2 separate regions of the Homo sapiens genome follow, and region 1 is linked to region 2. Evidence: promoter capture Hi-C in 16 types of primary human blood cells and fetal thymus (Javierre and others, 2016). All regions are on one chromosome and are shown on one strand. Each heading gives the region's core, a stretch centred on a gene start or on the middle of the fragment in contact. The rest is flanking DNA. Distances are from core to core; before and after follow the strand shown.

The links. Contacts are between HindIII fragments. The CHiCAGO score rates a contact against its expected background, and 5 or more counts as called.
Region 1: a contact is called between the fragment with the promoter of TRIM38 here and the fragment with the promoter of H2BC12 in region 2, in 13 of 17 cell types (activated CD4 T cells, total CD4 T cells, non-activated CD4 T cells and 10 more). The highest score is 23.3, in activated CD4 T cells.

What each region holds. Positions count from the first base shown.
Region 1 is chr6:25,961,262-25,964,051 of GRCh38, reverse strand. TRIM38 (tripartite motif containing 38) reads right to left here and starts at 1,250. Exons shown (of 8, transcript NM_006355.5): 1 at 1,197-1,250; 2 at 770-1,003. The HindIII fragment of the contact is 6,907 bases long and covers 1-2,790 here.
Region 2 is chr6:27,145,594-27,148,432 of GRCh38, reverse strand. It overlaps H2BC12 (H2B clustered histone 12), which reads left to right and starts at 1,578. Exons shown (of 1, transcript NM_001312653.2): 1 at 1,578-2,072. The coding sequence starts at 1,635. The coding sequence ends at 2,015. H2AC12 (H2A clustered histone 12) reads right to left here and starts at 1,327. Exons shown (of 1, transcript NM_080596.3): 1 at 871-1,327. The coding sequence starts at 1,304. The coding sequence ends at 918. It overlaps MIR3143 (microRNA 3143), which reads right to left and starts at 807; the gene lies at 745-807. RefSeq lists enhancers at 941-1,190, 1,521-1,980, 1,235-2,151, 2,571-2,680. The HindIII fragment of the contact is 2,078 bases long and covers 688-2,765 here.

The DNA.
Region 1 (2,790 bases), core at 1-2,500, 1.2 Mb after region 2:
TGTTCCCTTGGCTCCTACACCATCATGACAATAAAATTTGACTCCACCTCGACCCCCCCCATCCCCCACAAAGAACAACAACCAACACTGGTTAATAAGGTCGGTTGTTTTTTGTTTGTGTTTTTGTTGTTGTTGTTTTTGCTTTCAGGAGCAGAGGTATAATAGGCAAAAGAAAGAGAAAGGAGAATAGTGAATACCTCTTCTGCAGAGAGGGGTGCCTAAGTGGGACTTCCCTGGCTAATAACGTCTTGCTAGAGACCCAACCAGGAGGATAATGGAAGCAATCAAGGCAACCAGAACAACCAGAAGAACCGGTTTATCCTTTTTGTGCCCTCTCCCTAAACTGAGGGAATAAGAATTGGAAAGAAGGCTGCAGAGCAGAGGGTTTGCTCCTGAGGAGCAGTTATTTCTATGGGATCAGAGCTCCTGCAGAACTGGGGAGTTTACTTTTACTATCTCTTCTCCAGGACAGGACCTATCTCAAGAGACATGTTCAGAGTGATTGCAACATAAAGAGTTTGCAGACCCAAGGAGGTAGGGAAGGCAGAAAGAAGATGGGGGAGGCCAGGGATAGGCAACAGAGGAGTGACCAGGAGCGAAAAAGCCTGCCTCTTCTGAGAACCTAGCTGGGCTCTCCCTGTACCCCCGATCCCTCCCCCCCGCCCGCCCCCACACCCCTACTCCTGGGAGCTCCTCTAGGACAGGGGCAGAGTCAGGAGGAAGTTTGAAGAGTGCCTAGAATAAAAAACAGTAATTTAACTACAATTACCGGGTAGGCTGTTTTCCTCTCACAATTTGATCAGTCTCTTGAAGCCACACAGAATTTCTTCTGAAGACGTGTATTCCTTGGCAGGCTATTTCCTCCAGTGATACACCAGGCCCCTCTCTGCTGGGGTCACTGCTCTTCTGGGGAGATGGGGCTCCCCTCCTTCCAAGGCTCCAGGGTTCCTGTCCTGGGCCCCACTCATCTAAGTTCTGAATCTTCTGAGATTTGGTGTAAAGTCTGGTGAAAGAAAGAGCAGGAAAGAGGTGAGAGCTGTAAAACAAAGAAAGTCCTGACCATTTTCAGAGTTGGAGGGGCCCTGCTGTCACGAAATATATTCCCCACCCCACTTGCCATCAGTACACACTCACATATCCACTGAGAAAACCTTAGCCTGGACCTTTTCCGTAACCTTCACTGCTCAGACACTTACATATTCGCTGCTAGTCCCCTCTGTTGCTGCCACTTCCTGGGTCAGGAAGTTAACTCAGACCGGATTAAACTGAGAAGTGAAACTACTGTGGGAGGCGGGGCTCATAAGATTTAGGAGAAAACTAGTGACGTTGTTCATATCATTTGCACTCCGCCTCTCCGGTAAAGGAGGGGGAAACGTAGGAAGAAAATATCCTTCTTTTACAGCAATAAAAAGAAGGAACCAATTAATAACCCTGTAAACTATCATGTGACCCCAACACAGAGTATCTAAAAACAGGAAGCCTGCAGAGGTTCAGTTCACAGACTCTGATTTGAGATCTTTCTACTTTTGCCACCAACTCCCTTGGGAGTCCTTAAGCCTTCCTAGCTGATGTTACTTCTTTTGCTATTTATGGGTTGCTTGTGGTTCTATAACTGCTCTGAAGGGTGTGGTGGAAAAAGGGGTGGTAACAGCAGTAGGACTCATTGGCATCACAAAATTCATCTGAGTCAGCTTTCTATTCTTCTCTGTCCCGTTCTGTGTCTTGTTTTTCTCCTTGCTGTCCTTCTGCAGGACTCAGATCTTCTTCAATAGCGAGGGTCAGCCAGGATAGAAAATGGGAGTCACTAGTGGCCCAGCAGTGAGTGCCCCCAGCTTAGAGCTGTGTGGGATCCCTGGGACCATCACTCTGCTTTGTGCTTTGTGGAGAAAAGGCTGTGGGGTCCAGGGTCAAGTCCTTAATGACTTAGCTCCAGCTTCTCCACTTCAAAATGAAAGGAAAAGTACTATCACCACCCGTTAGAATTATTATTTCATGGGGAAAAAAGATGGATTACTATCTCACAATAAGAGCTTGTCACATTTATAAGTCTCAGGTGTAAGAGGCATTTATGATAACAACATAATAAATGCTGGCTTAAGTAGATGCAGTGGTCCAAGGGAACCAGTAAGGGGAGCTCAGGACACAGGTGGGAGGAGAAATTAAACTTGAATTCTGGGAGCCACTGGCCTGTCTGGGCCCCTGGCCTGCCTGCTGACCCTGATAGCCAATGGAACATGGAGTTTGGCCCAGCTGCAATCCCTCTGGTCCAACTACTCAAAATAAAGGCAAGATTGGGAAACACGTTCCTTTCTTCCTATACCAAGCAGAAGACTCTTCAGCACTGCACCCTCCTGGGTGCTCACAGAGCCTTCTGTTGTTTTGCCACCTACGATTCATCATGCCCTGGCATGATGGTTGCAGACCCCATGCATAGCATGGGACATTCTACTCCTGAGGCAACCAGCACACAGAGAGAGGAGAAAGAATGAGCCCCTGAATCCTTGGTCCCACGATGAGTCCTTGCAGATATCTACAACTTTCATTGTTGTGGATGTGACTCTGTACCCAGGCATGGCTCATTCCAGATCTGTCCTATTGTCAGAGGTGTTCAAACCAGAATGACTCCATTTTGAATGGGGGCTAGGTAAAATAAGGCTGAGACCTACTGGGCTGCATTCCCAGGAAGTTAGGCATTGTAAGTCACAGGATGAAATAGGCAGTTGGCACAAGACACAGGTCATAAAGATCTTGCTGATAAAACAGGTTGCAGTAAAGAAGCTGACCAAAACC
Region 2 (2,839 bases), core at 329-2,828:
TACAAGAGTGCATTAATACACCTGCTCCAAAGAAATGGGACTAAGGATTTACAAATATGGGATTCAGGAAATTCTGCATCCCATATTCTCCTTCCATCGGAATCAAATTCTAATGCAAATGAGTCACTAGACTTTCATCACCTGGGTAAAGTTACTCTTAAGAGTTAGACCACTTAAGAATCAGGCTGCCCTTTCTTGCTTTTCAAGAATACTTAGAATTGCAAAATTTGCCTTTAAAGAATGGCAAGTATATCCCATTTTTATGGCTGTTTGACAACACTATTAATGTAATAGAATTATTACACTGGAGGCCGGGCGCTGTGGCTCACGCCTGTAATCCCAGCACTTTGGGAGGCCGAGGCGGGCGGATCACCTGAGGTCAGGAGTTCGAGACCAGCCTGGCCACCATGGTGGAACCCCGTCTCCACTAAAAATACAAAAAAACTAGCCGGTCGTGGTGGTGTGTGCCTGTAATCCCAGCTATTCGGGAGGCCGAGACAGGAGAATCGCTTGAACCTGGGAGGTGGAGGTTGCAGTGAGCCGAGATCGCGCCGCGCCACTGCACTCCAGCCTGTTGGAGACTCCATCTCAAAAAAAAAAAAAAAAAAAAAAAAACCACTGGAATTAGTAAATAGATTTCAGGGATTTGTACGTTTGATTTCACTTATTACCCCTGCTGAATAAGCTTCTCCGGAGTATCCTACAACAACTTTTGGGTCTTCATTGCTTTCCAGTGGGTTAATTTAGAAACATTGTAAAGAGTTGCTCCAGCCCAACCGCGAAAGAAGCGCTTTACAATGTTATCTAGCGAAGCAAACATGAAGTGAAACAAACATGACTGTGTCCAGCTTTCTCTAAGACAGTGTAGAATGGCTCTGAAAAGAGCCTTTGTTTTCCAGTTTTCACAACCTCGCTCCTTATTTGGCCTTATGGTGGCTCTCAGTCTTCTTAGGCAGCAGCACGGCCTGGATATTGGGCAAGACACCACCCTGCGCGATGGTGACTTTGCCCAGCAGCTTGTTGAGCTCCTCGTCGTTGCGGATGGCCAGTTGGAGGTGACGCGGGATGATACGGGTCTTCTTGTTGTCGCGGGCCGCATTGCCAGCCAGCTCCAGGATCTCAGCGGTCAGGTACTCCAGCACCGCAGCCAGGTACACTGGCGCGCCGGCTCCAACCCGCTCGGCATAATTACCCTTGCGGAGCAGGCGGTGCACTCGGCCCACGGGGAACTGAAGCCCAGCCCGAGAAGAGCGGGTCTTGGCCTTGGCGCGAGCTTTACCGCCTTGCTTGCCACGTCCAGACATACTGGTCACAACTTACTGAAAGTAGCCAACGAGGAAAGGCAGCGCCTTTTATAAACACTATTGGGCGCGAAAAAGAAGATATGTCATTGGTTAGGGTTGTAGCTTAGTTTTAACCAATGGAAGTACGTCTTTTGGATTTGCAGATTGGGTTGATTGGGTATAACTAACCTCTGACGTCACCCTAATAACCACCAATCAGATACAGGACTTTCACTCTTCACCTTATTTGCATGAGAGGTCCTATATAAAAACGACTCCTGGTACCTTGCTCCCATTACTTCCCGTTTTCTCGATCTGCTGCTCGTCTCAGGCTCGTAGTTCGCCTTCAACATGCCGGAACCAGCGAAGTCCGCTCCCGCGCCCAAGAAGGGCTCGAAGAAAGCCGTGACTAAGGCGCAGAAGAAGGACGGCAAGAAGCGCAAGCGCAGCCGCAAGGAGAGCTACTCCGTATACGTGTACAAGGTGCTGAAGCAGGTCCACCCCGACACCGGCATCTCCTCTAAGGCCATGGGAATCATGAACTCCTTCGTCAACGACATCTTCGAACGCATCGCGGGTGAGGCTTCCCGCCTGGCGCATTACAACAAGCGCTCGACCATCACCTCCAGGGAGATCCAGACGGCCGTGCGCCTGCTGCTGCCCGGGGAGTTGGCCAAGCACGCCGTGTCCGAGGGCACCAAGGCCGTCACCAAGTACACCAGCGCTAAGTAAACTTGCCAAGTAAGCGTCTTAAAGCCCAACCCCAAAGGCTCTTTTAAGAGCCACTTAAATTATCGATATTAGAGCTGTAAACACGTGTTCCTAATCCAGGCTTAAATTCGGGCGATCTTTTTAAAGGGATTATCATGATCTTATCACACTGAGTAATGCATGCAGTGCTTGTAATCGAGTCTGGCTAAGGAGAAGCCACATACACTTTGTTAGTACTGAGTGAGGAATATGGCGCCTAAAAAATTAGGGATGTGCAGGAAACTTGTGTTAACAGAAAGTGCTTCCTGGCTCTTGGCGCGAAAATGGATACTTCCGTTGTGTCGAGTGCTGTGACTTCCTGTTAGAACTTGTTGAAAGCCTATTGTGTCACGTGTACTTTCCACCATGTAATGGCGTTCTAACGTGAGTTTATATATTAGTAAATTTGGTTCCCGATGGCGTTCCAGTACGTATGGCTTTCGCTCGAGCAGTTACCTTATTTAACCTCTTCTAGGCTGTACCCAGCTCTGCCTTGCTTTGCTTCCCCCTCACCCCCTGATTCCATCTCTGCAGCCCACGGGACATCGGGAAGATGCCAGACCACCAGGCAGGATAGTCTGCAAGGGTAAGGGGAGGAGCACAGCTTTTCTCAGGAGTGAAGAAACGGAACATGAAATCATCACGGAGATTTTTGGAATAGTTTACTAGTTTTTAAGGCATGTTCAGCGTCAATTGGTCCAATCAGTAATTTTTCCTTTTGACAAGAAAGCTTATAGAAAAGGAAAATGAAAAGCAAGTAGATTCAGAGGGGAGACAACAGACAGACTAGAGACAGTCCGCCCCGA